Regions from separate parts of the Homo sapiens genome. Here region 2 is linked to region 1. Evidence: promoter capture Hi-C in 16 types of primary human blood cells and fetal thymus (Javierre and others, 2016). All regions are on one chromosome and are shown on one strand. Each heading gives the region's core, a stretch centred on a gene start or on the middle of the fragment in contact. The rest is flanking DNA. Distances are from core to core; before and after follow the strand shown.

What was found. Contacts are between HindIII fragments. The CHiCAGO score rates a contact against its expected background, and 5 or more counts as called.
Region 2: a fragment that was not itself captured here is called in contact with the fragment with the promoter of IGFL1 in region 1 in 2 of 17 cell types (M1 macrophages and M2 macrophages); the score reaches 7.9 in M1 macrophages.

Annotation. Positions count from the first base shown.
Region 1 is chr19:46,228,089-46,234,132 of GRCh38, forward strand. It overlaps IGFL1 (IGF like family member 1), which reads left to right and starts at 1,654. Exons shown (of 4, transcript NM_198541.2): 1 at 1,654-1,711; 2 at 2,020-2,073; 3 at 2,186-2,429; 4 at 2,733-3,155. The coding sequence starts at 1,687. The coding sequence ends at 2,742. RefSeq lists an enhancer at 1,002-2,201. The HindIII fragment of the contact is 5,684 bases long and covers 1-3,771 here.
Region 2 is chr19:45,946,897-45,952,806 of GRCh38, forward strand. The region is part of intron 3 of NOVA2 (NOVA alternative splicing regulator 2); the gene reads right to left. Among named protein-coding and RNA genes, the nearest start is that of NOVA2, 24 kb to the right of the region's middle. RefSeq lists an enhancer at 5,639-5,910. The HindIII fragment of the contact is 1,242 bases long and covers 1,141-2,382 here.

The DNA.
Region 1 (6,044 bases), core at 404-2,903:
CATCTGTAATCCCAGCTACTCAGAGACTGAGGCAGGAGAATCACTTGAACCTGGCAGGCAGAGGTTGCAGTGAGCCAAGATCGTGCAACTGCACTCCAGCCTGGGCAACTGAACAAGGCTTCATCTCAAAAAAATAAATAATTTTTTTTAAAGTGTCATAAACAGTTGAGCACAGCATTCTGTTGAATGCACACTGTCCCATTTTCTAACCCATTTCTTCACTTAAAAATAACATTGTTTATGCCCAAGTAAATTGATTTTCCATGCTACTAGCACATCCTAATCTGTGTCCTAGAAAACACTGCTGTACCCCACAGCAGCAAGGAACAGAGGCCAAGGGAGCAGACAGGGAGATGGTGCTGGAAGCAGGGTCTGCTCTGTCGAGGGAGAAGGTGGGTGCTGAGCACTCTGGTATTTATTGAAGTCATTTCTCTGCAGCCTCTTCCTGTGTCTCCTGCCTCCAGAGAGAAGCCCCTATCCGTGCTCCCCAGGAACACAGATGCAGGATCTTCCACACACACAAATCTAACCACATCCATGCCCTGCTAGGAGCCAGCCATGGTGCCTAGAGGGTGACAGGTCACCTTGCCTGGCCCGGAGGAGAACGGCTTGTCCATGCCATGTGTGGCCTGTGAGCTTGAGCGGAGGAATTCCTGCAGAAGCTGGGCAGGGGTAGGGGGGCACAGAACTGACCCAAAACAGCTCCTTCCCCTCTGTCCTCACATCCTGACCCCAAGATGGCTCTTCTCAGGGAAAATCACAACCCAACCCTCTGAAAAAGCACATTAAGGAAAAACACCTTTGAGAATCTCAGGGGGGGATGTGGAATTTCTCCACCAGAACTTCACAGTGATAATGACACCAAACACAAGAACGACAATAACCAAAATCAGGAGTTTTATTCTCCTACCTTCTCTCTCTCTCTCTCTCCTCTCACTGTCATGAACGTCACGAAGACACTGACTTTGCGTTTTCTACTCAGCACTGCATCACTGGTGTCTGACACGAAGCCTGGGACATGTAGGCTCCCAAGTGGACCTGTCCTGGGTAAATGACCATTAATGAGACAGAGAAGGAGATGAAGAGCCCCCAGAGGAGTGTTGAGTCCCAGGGGTCCCGCCAGCTCCACTCCCACCTTCCAAACCTGTGAAAGTCAGGTGCCTGAGTCACACAGTCTCTCCCACCTGAATGCCATGAGCTGCAGGTGACTGAGAAGTTACTGGATTCTTGACCATGTGTTTCGGTTGTGAGGTTGGGACCTAATGGGACCCTTTGAAATGATGTCATGGGTTAGCAATGTCCCAAGGAAACTGAGGAAAGTCATAGCTCAGTAGGATCCTGTGGAATCGCTGTGTGGACATGTGAGTGTCGGAGAGTGTTAATGCCAGGAGCATCCTGAACCTTCCTATTTTCCAGAGGACTCAGTGTGGGGGACGATTGGGGCACATAGCACAGAGAAGGTGGAGGGTGTACCGCTTCTCTCCTGATTACAAAGGTGAGATCAAAGCTACAATGACACGTACCCTGCCTGGCACCTCTCCTGCCCAAGGACCCAGCCTGTCTCTGCAGGACTTGCAGGAGGGCAGGAAATGCCATGACATCACCAGCTCCACTAGAAATATGGGATAAAAGGAGTGGCTGAGATCTGCTGATCCCCTCCTCACTCCACTGCAACCACCCAGAGCCATGGCTCCCCGAGGCTGCATCGTAGGTAAGGAGGACAGGACCCCATTCCCACCTGAGCCCATCTCCAATCTCAGCCACCACCAGGGCTCTCTCCCTACCCCAAACTACACCTCATCCCTGTTCCCATGCCCAGCCAAATCTCCAGGCGTGAATTGCTCACAGCAATTCCCCATCCATAGTGCCCAGATCAGCCCCATCCACAGCCCTGTTTCAGTCCCTGAGCTGCTCAAAGCCATACCGAGCCCTGGTTCCACCCAGTCTTCTTCTAAATGTCAGTGCCAGTCATATCTGTGGCTGTCCACTCACCCCATCTTCCCTTTCCCTTTCCCACAGCTGTCTTTGCCATTTTCTGCATCTCCAGGCTCCTCTGCTCACACGGAGCCCCAGGTGAGCCCAGGAGTGTTTGGGAAGCTGGAGGAGGGGTACACCTTCCAGGGGACCCCAGGCTGGGACCCACCTGCCACTACCTCCTGGATCTCACCAGCTCTGTCTCCTCCAGTGGCCCCCATGACTCCTTACCTGATGCTGTGCCAGCCACACAAGAGATGTGGGGACAAGTTCTACGACCCCCTGCAGCACTGTTGCTATGATGATGCCGTCGTGCCCTTGGCCAGGACCCAGACGTGTGGAAACTGCACCTTCAGAGTCTGCTTTGAGCAGTGCTGCCCCTGGACCTTCATGGTGAAGCTGATAAACCAGAACTGCGACTCAGCCCGGACCTCGGATGACAGGCTTTGTCGCAGGTGAGTCCTGTCCCCTCCGTGGGATTGTGGGTGCAGGGTAGCTGCATGCCTGTTCTGCCCTGGGTGGAGCCCCCATTCTCCTTGTCTCCCTGTCTCTGCCCCCTGCTTCTATTCAATCCACCTCTCCCTTTCCCTACACCTGTGTCTCCATCCATTTTTATTTCCCTCTCAGAATCTCACTCTCTCTACCCCGCTGTCCTCTCCTCCTGGCTCTCCTGTCCTCATTTCTGCCCATGTTCAGTCTCGCCCCCATCTCTGGCCATCTCTGTCCCGCTCAGTGTCTCTCTCTGTCACTATCTCCAGTGTCAGCTAATGGAACATCAGGGGAACGATGACTCCTGGATTCTCCTTCCTGGGTGGGCCTGGAGAAAGAGGCTGGTGTTACCTGAGATCTGGGATGCTGAGTGGCTGTTTGGGGGCCAGAGAAACACACACTCAACTGCCCACTTCATTCTGTGACCTGTCTGAGGCCCACCCTGCAGCTGCCCTGAGGAGGCCCACAGGTCCCCTTCTAGAATTCTGGACAGCATGAGATGCGTGTGCTGATGGGGGCCCAGGGACTCTGAACCCTCCTGATGACCCCTATGGCCAACATCAACCCGGCACCACCCCAAGGCTGGCTGGGGAACCCTTCACCCTTCTGTGAGATTTTCCATCATCTCAAGTTCTCTTCTATCCAGGAGCAAAGCACAGGATCATAATAAATTTATGTACTTTATAAATGAATGCTGTAGAATTCATGAATTAGAGAGCTTGGACTGTTGAAAGGGGTCACAGAGGGTGACGTGGGGCCCCTTCTCTCTGTCACCCTGAGGCATCTGGGCCTTTCCATTTGTTCTGTTCGTGCACACACTTATTTTCTCTTTTTCCATTTATTTTTAAATTTATTATTTTGTTATTTGTGCTCGGTGACTAGGACCCTGGCCGCACCTGGGACAGGGGCCACCCTCCTACACCAGCCTCCACCACCCCATGGCTCCCTGAACCCAGTCACAACATCGGGAGCAGCCCAGGTGGGGTGGGGAGGAGGTGGGGATCGCGAGAGGGCTTCGGAGAGGCACTCCCTCTCCCACCAGTTCTGGGACAGAACAGGACCCGGCTGTTTGTTCTTGATGTACGTTAAGGAGATGCAGACAGACTGGGAAAGAACGGAGGTTCTTTCTCCAACTGGCTATGGGGAGAAGGTCAGAGTAGCTTACCAGACCAACTCAAAGCTACAAACTTCTTTTTCTAGTGCTTATATGCATTCTAAGCTCCACGCCTATGTGCGGAGTGCACCTGCAAGACAGCGTGTTTCATTCTTATCAATATCTAATCTTTAACTAGTGTCCAGGGTCTGGAAAGCTTTCTCCAGAGTCTTGGAAAGTTTCTTAATCTTAAATGGACCCCAGTATGAGGAATATGTGGAAGAATGCTATTATTATTTGATCAGATTTTAGGGTCTGAGAAAACCCAGCTGGGGTTTTAATGGGCTTGTTTTCTCATTCCCGCCCTCATCCCCAGGCACTAGTTTATCCAGTTCTATAATGTTTAAGGTATGCATTCATCAAAAATAAAGTTTAGTGGAAACTGACTCTTCTGGTCGCTAACAGAAACCTGATCTGCCACACACCCATCCCAGGCACGCGTCCCCTGGGATCGTGGAAAACCCACTGGGCAGGTCCAACGCCCAGAGATGCCACACTTAGTCTGACTTTGGGCCAAAGCTGGAGCCTGAGAGGGAGTGGGTGGGGCGGGGTGTGGAGGATGTGGGCTATGGAGGAGCCCTCGGGTTTGGAAGGAGGAAGCAAAGGCTGGCCAAGGCACCTGAAGCACATTCTTCAGGCCCTGTGCCAGGGACAAACCCTCGTGGCCAGTGCTGATGTGGAATAGATCGCAGGGAGGGGGCCACGCTGCTGCTTACCCAACCCAGAAGCAGGTTCCTTAGGGAGCGTTCAGCCCTAGGGTCTCCACCAACCTGGATTCCCCAAAGTCAAAGAAGCCACCACCTTTCTGGGTCCTGTTTCTCAGGGCCAGGGGGTCTGCACAGGGCCTGCGTCCCTGGGCCTCAGTCATCCGAGGCCAACCCAGGCTCCCGGACTGCCCGATGGCTTCCCTGGGCAGATTCTGACTCAAAGGGTTCCATCATCGCCCCACAGTTGGCAGCCTCGCCTCAGTGGCCCCAGACGGGCCCGGTGGCCAGGTGTCTGCACGTGCGGGAACTCTGGACCCGGCACATCACCATGGCAGCAATCTGGCATCACAGGGCAAATGCCCTGTCTCACAGGCCTAACCCTAGCTCAGGGCCTATCAGTGGGAGCACACCCAATGCTGGGTGAGCTCTGCCTCCCCATGCTAGGATTCTGCAGGGCGTGAGAGCTGTGCTGGCGCCTAGAAAGCGACAGACCCACCCCACCCACGGGGTGGCTGCTTCCTCATCCTCCACAGTGAGCGTCCTAAACCTTCACCCTGTCCACATGTGACTCTCCTTGCCTGCACTCCCCCCACCACCCCATGAAATGATCTCATTTGGTCATTTAAGTGGAAAACTAAAAAGTTTTAAGTGACTCCGTGAGAGCAGGAGAGAGGCGGGTCTCCCAGCTCAGACCCCGCCCTGGACGCCCCCACTGAAGCCGCACAGCAGGATGTAGGTGCCCAAGGCACCTACACGCGCCGAGAGGCCTCGCTCAGCCCCGCCCTTCTTAAACCTGGAATCCTCAGGTGTCTGGGTCCTGCCCCATACAGGCCCCCTAGACCACTGGTCCAGATCCCCAACCTTCCCCCAACACGAGGTATTGACATCAAAGCATCACCTCATCTGGCACAAGAATCTGAAACACAGACCGCACCTTACACCAATGTAGTGAATCCCTCCTTGGATCTCAGTCCAACAAGCCCAGAGTCGGGGCTCTGGGTTCCCGCCCAAATGCCACGTGTGCGCACAGAAGGCACCTGACGTCCCTTCTAAGGGACAGGAATCTCAGGCATCCCAGAATCACTAGGTCTGATTTAAATAGCGTCAAATAAATTGGAAAAGAATGAAAGTGCTATAAAGTTCGGCTGAAATTTTCAGAGGTTTTATTGGTTGTATCTGGTGGAGAGAGTGGGCAAGTCTTCTCTGAACATCCATGAGGACGAAGAACAGTCACTGAGGTGACGGTACCAAGTCACCGGCCACCTCCCAGGGATCCTCTCATCCGGTCCTCACAGCAGCGCTGCATGGTCGGACCTCATCACCCACATTCCACCAAGAGGAAGCTGAAGCCCGGGGCCTTCATCCACTCATGTCCTCCAGACCCCTGGCACCCATCCTGGGCCCCACCCCATCATCCAGGCCTTGGGCCTTCGACCTGGGGAGAGTCCCTGTCTCCTCCATGAGCCGCCCTGGGCCTGAAGAGGTATCCAATAAACAAGAAAGCAGAACACAAAGAGCTGTGATGGAGTGGATCTTATGTAGTAAGAATAAACTTATTTTGAGAAATTTCTGGGTCATGTATTTACCCACAGAAAAACAGAAGCAAACACACACACACACACACGCACACACACACACACACACACCACACAGGCTGTCACGTGTCCTAAGCACAAAGTGCCTTGAGCAAGGCCATTGCTGGCCCCACACTTATCCTGACT
Region 2 (5,910 bases), core at 512-3,011, 280 kb before region 1:
ACAAAAATTGTGTGTGCGCACGCGCATGTACACACATGCATGCACATGTGTTCATGCATGCACAAATGTTAACAACTGGTGAATCTAAGTGCAGTGTATGGGGACTATTCCTTAAACATTTTCAAAATAAAAAGGAAAAAAATCTATGCCCTAACATTCCCTTTTCCTCTTCTCCGCTTTATTTTTCTTCATAGTATTTTTCACTCTCTAACATCCTCTATATTTTACTTATCTCCTTGTTTATTTTGTGTTTCTCTGTAAAAGAATTTCAAATCCACGAGGTTAGAGATTTTTGCCTGTATTATTACTGCTGGGTTCTCAGCGCCTAGAAAAGTGCCTGGAACACAGTAGATACTCAGCAAAGGGTGAGCGAATAAATAGACGGATGAAGACTGAAGGATGACACGCCCACAGGCCCAAGCAGGAAGGCGAATGGGTGGAGGCAGCAGGTGTATCTTACCTGGTGGGGGTGGGGAGTGGTAGAGTACTATGCAATTGGGCAGCCAAACTAAGCCTGATGGACATTTTCCAGATGAGTTGGAAATGCTGATTTGTAAAATGTGAAGCACCCTAGTTTTTTTTTTTTCTTTTTTTTGAGACGGAGTTTCGCTCTTTTGCCCAGGCTAGAGTGCAGTGGCGCAATCTCAGCTCACTGCAACCTCCGTCTTCCAGTTTCAAGCGATTCTCCTGCCTCAGCCTCCCGAGTAGCTAGGATTACAGGCACCCACCACCACGCCCGGCTAATTTTTGTATTTTTAGTAGCGATGGGGTTTTAACATGTTAGCCAGGCTCGTTTTGAACTCCTGACCTCGTGATCCGCCTGTCTCAGCCTCCCAAAGTACTGGGATTACAGGCCTGAGCCACCACACCTGGCCAGCATCCTAGTTTTTAAATGTTGGCAATCTCTTAAAAATGTCTAAGATTTGTGTAGTAGAAACAATGCAATGTACTAGCCAGGCTACCCATTTGCAGTCTGTGCATACAAATCCCTGAAAAGCTGCCTTGGACTCTGGAGTCACCTGCTTGGGTTTAAATCCTGGCTCCCTGTCTGATGCTGGGCAAGGGACCTAACCTCTTTGAGACTCAGTTTTCTCATCTGTAAAACAAGGATATTCAGACCTCCTCATAGGACTATGATGAAGCTTAATTGAGCTTATGCATGTAATGGTGAGCTTGAAATCCAAGCATGACCACAAGTAGCTGGAACTGAGAGTGAGTGCCCTTCAGGTGACTCACAACTGCTACCATTGGCAGATTACACCTCAGTCCCTATGTTTCTGCTTGGCCCTGTGGGTGAAGTCATCACCTATTCATTCAAATAAGTGACATGTGCTGAGCACCTACTATGTGCCAAGCATAGGGCATCATGTATGTGTGCAATTAATATAAGCCATAGAAGCACTCAAGAAATGATTATTGTCAGCCGGGCGTGGGGGCTCATGCCTGTAATCCCAGAACTTTGGGAGGCCAAGGTGGGCGGATCACGGGGTCAGGAGATCAAGACCATTCTGGCTAACACGGTGAAACCCCGTCTCTACTAAAAATACAAAAAAATTAGCCAGGTGTGGTGGCGGGTGCCTGTAGTCCCAGCTACTCGGGAGGCTGAGGCAGGAGAATGGCGTGAACCCGGGAGGGGGAGCTTGCAGTGAGCCGAGATTGCGCCATTGCACTCCAGCCTGGGGGACGGAGGGAGACTCTGTCTCAAAAAAAAAAAAAAAAAGAAAAAAGAAAAGAAAAGAAAAAGAAATGATTATTGTCATTGTTATCCCCATGGATGGAGCTGGATTTAAATCCCACATCTGCGGTACAGCTATTATGGAAACCAGTCTGGCAGTTCTTCAAAAAGTTGAACATAGATTTATCATATGTCCCAACAATTCCACCCTAGGTATCTACCCGAGAGCTGGAAATATATATCTACAAAAAGACTTGTACATGAATGTTCAGAAGCATTACTCATCATAGCTAAAAAGGAGAAACAACCCAAATGTCTATCAACTGATGAACAGACAAGCAAAATGTGGTCTATGCATACAATGAAACATTATTTGTCTATAAAAAGGAGTAAAGTTTTGACACATGCTAAACTATAGATAAACCTCGAAAGTATTACATCAAGTGAAAAAAGCTAGACACAAAAGACCATATATTATATGATTCTGTTTATATAAAAGATCCAGAATAGGCAAGTCCACAGAGACCAAAAGTAGATTAGTGGCTGGAAGACGTTGAGACTGGGATCTGGGGGAATGGTGAGTGACTGCTCATGGGCACAAGGTTTCTTTTTGGCATGATGAAAATGTTCTGGAATTAGATGGTAACTGATGTACGACTCTGTGAACATACAACAAAACTACTAAACTGTACACTTCTAAACAGTAAAGCTTACAGTATGTGAATTATAGCTCAACAGAGCTGTTATTTCAAAAAAAAAAAAAAAAAAACACCAGGAAAAACAAACAGCCTGACAAATCAAGAAGATGGAACAGCATGTTCACAACCACAACCAGGAGTGGTATTTAGTCTGTGATGCAGTATTTTAGAGCAGTGAAGGAAGGATAGATTGGCCAAGAAAAGGTTTGAGGACAAGGGGTTAATCATGTGGGAAAAATAAAGTTAGGTTTTAAGAAAATTTCTACCTCTTCCACCTCCTAGCTGGTGGCCTGTGAAAGTCCCTTTACTTCTCAGAGCCTCTTTTTCCACATCTGTAAAATGGGCATACTATTCCCGATCCATACGATTTGTGCAAATATTCAGTGAGACACTGGAAGCCTGCTCTCTGGAGTCACTCAGTCAGCAGGGTTGCTGTTTCTACAACACAGCAAGGTCCAAATCGTAGGTTGTTTTTTTTTTTTTTTTTTTGAGACAAAGTCTTGCTCTGTCAGCCAGGCTGGAGTGCAGTGGTGCGATCTTGCCTCACTGCAACCTCTGCCTCTCAGGTTCAAGTGATTCTCCTGCCTCAGCCGCTGGGGTAGCTGGGATTACAGGCGCCTGCCACCATGTCTGGCTGATTTTTGTATTTTTAGTAGAGATGGGGTTTCACCATGTTGGCCAGGCTGGTCTTGAACTCCTGGCCTCAAGTAATCCGCCCACCTCGGCTTCCCAAGGTGCTGAGATTACAGGCATGAGCCACTACGTCCAGCCTCCTAGTTTATTCTTTAGTAACTGTGTGACCTTAGGCAAATGCCTTCACCTCTCTGTGCCTTACCTTTCTCATCTCCAGTATTAGCATAACCACACCTACCCTATATTATTATTGGAAACATTCTTTTTTTTTTTTTTTTTACAGTCTTGCTCTGTCACCCAGGTTGGAGTGCAGTGGCGCGATCTCGGCTCACTGCAGCCTCCGCCTCCCAGGTTCAAGCGATTCTTCTGCCTCAGCCTCCTGAATAGCTGAGACTACAGGTGTGCACCACCATGCCCGGCTAATTTTTTTGTATTTTTAGTAGAGATGGGGTTTTGCCATGTTGGCCACGCTGGTCTCGAACTCCTGACCTCAGGTGATCCACCCACCTCGGCCTTTCAAAGTGTTGGAATTACAGGCATGAGCCACTGCTCCCGGCCTGTTATGGGAAACATTCAATGACTAAAGTGATGCCCAGTGCCTGGCACATGGGAAGCGCTAAGCCAATGGCAGCTGCCTTCATGATAGACCCTGAATTGTAGAACTACAGCATCTTAGAAAGATCTGCAGATGCAGACTCATAGAATCTTGGAATCCCAGGACATTAGAACAGTAGAATCTTAGATAATACATGCTTAGAATCTTGGAATCACAGAGCCATAGAACTGTTGAAGTTTTAGAGCCAGAAGGACCAGAGACCATCTGCCCCAGTGATTTGCAAGCCCATGGAAATTTGCAAATACTACTACTACCACCACCAACAATAACAACAAAAGCAGCATCAACAGCTAACAGTTTAATAGAGTAACTTATCTAGGTTCCACCACAACCCTAAGATAGGTGTTATTATTACCCCATTTTCTAGATTGGGAAATGGAGGCACAAAGAAAGAACTTGCACAAGTTCTTTCACAGGTAATGAGCAGTAGAGTCAGGATCTGATCCCGGGCCAGAGTTTATGCTCAGATTCCTAAGCCTTACCAGAAATATTGATTCAGTGGTTCTGGACAGGACCCATGAATCTGCATTTTAAGCTACCCAGATGACTCAGATATCAGCTAGGGGTGAGAGCCACTGGTATAACCCAGAAGTGGCAATCTGGTGATCCTCAGGCCCCAGTCAGCCTACAGCCATACATGTTTTTTTGACCTTCATAGTGTTTTAAAAGCAGAGTTGGCCTGGCGCAATGGCTCACGCCTGTAATCCCAGCACTTTGGGGAGCTGAGGCGGGTGGATTGCTTGAGTCCAGGAGTTAGAGAACAGCCCGCAACATGGTGAAATCCTGTCTCTACAAAAAATACAAAAATTAGCCAGGGGCCGGGCGCAGTGTCTCATGCCTGTAATCCCAGCACTTTGGGAGGCCAAGGAAGGCAGATCACCTGAGGTCAGGAATTCGAGACTGGCCTGGCCAACATGGTGAAACCCCATCTCTACTAAAAATACAAAAAATTAGCCAGGCATGGTAACAGGTGCCTGTAATCCCAGCTACTTGGGAGGCCAAGGCAGGAGAATCACTTGAACCCGGGAGTTGTAGGTTGCAGTGAGCTGAGACCAGGCCATTGTACTCCATCCTGGGCAACAAGAGCAAAACTCCGTTTCAAAAAAAAAAAAAAGAAAAGAAAAAAAAATTAGCCAGGCGTGGTCGTGTTCACCTGTAGTCCCAGCTATTCAGTGGGCTGAGGTGGGAGGATCGCTTGAGCCTGGGATGTCGAGGCTCCAGTGAGCCTAGATCATACCACTGCACTCCAGCCTGGGTGACAGAGTGTGACTCTGCCTCAGACTAATATATATTAAATAATAATAATAATAAAGCATTTTAAAGTCAGTTGATCTAAAAAATTTATGGCTTCTTTTGAAAAATTTGGAAGATGTGGTAGCACTATGTTCATGTTCCCAAAGTGCAATAATTCGGTGGATTTGAGTGGCAGCTTCTCCCTTTAAAGATGGCATACCCTCTCCAGAGAGCAACAACCCTCAAGGCTTTTGTTACCTTTTTCAATACTTTAGTTATTTAATTTATAATCCCTGGTTTGGCCCAGCTGCTGCACTGTAATAAAAGAGAAACTGAGGTCTACAGAAGGAAAGGGGCTCTGAGTAACACTGCAAGTCCAAGGCAGAAAAGAAGTAGACCTGTTTCCTGACTCAAAAATCCCATAATAACAACAGAGAACATTTTTGGGGCTAACTTTCTATGCATTATACACATAAGCTATGTGCTTTTCAAACATCAACGAACACTAACCATCACCCTTAAGGAGGCATCATAATGAATCTCATTTTACAGGTGAGAAAAATGAGGATTGGAGAAATCAAAGTCACTTGCTCAAGGTCACATAGGACGTAAGTACTGTACGGAGAAGGATTCAACTAAACAACAGAGCCCAGAGCCTGAGTTTTCAGCTATGATCTCCCTCAGTCTTTGGAACACTCGAGTAATAAGGCAGGGAATAAATCCTGGTTCTATAACCTTTCGACTCCACTGTCTCAGAGCTCCTGTGGATTAGGGGGAGGGGGTAGAAGGCTCAGGCACAGATGGTGCTGACCCCATTTTCCTTGCAACATTCACAAACTCCTGATGAACCCTGAGTCCCTTGTGGCCACGACCAAGGCGGAGGGAAGAGGCAATGCCCTCGCCTCCCTGTAAACTGTGAATAACTTGTGCGCTGCTGGTGGGAAGGGATTCGGGAGAAACCTGGCGGGGAGCGAGGAGCTTCAGCACCAAGGACAGCGTCCGCGCTACACGCCCCAAGCCCTGCGGTCTTTTTTGGGAGCGCTCCACCCTGCAGC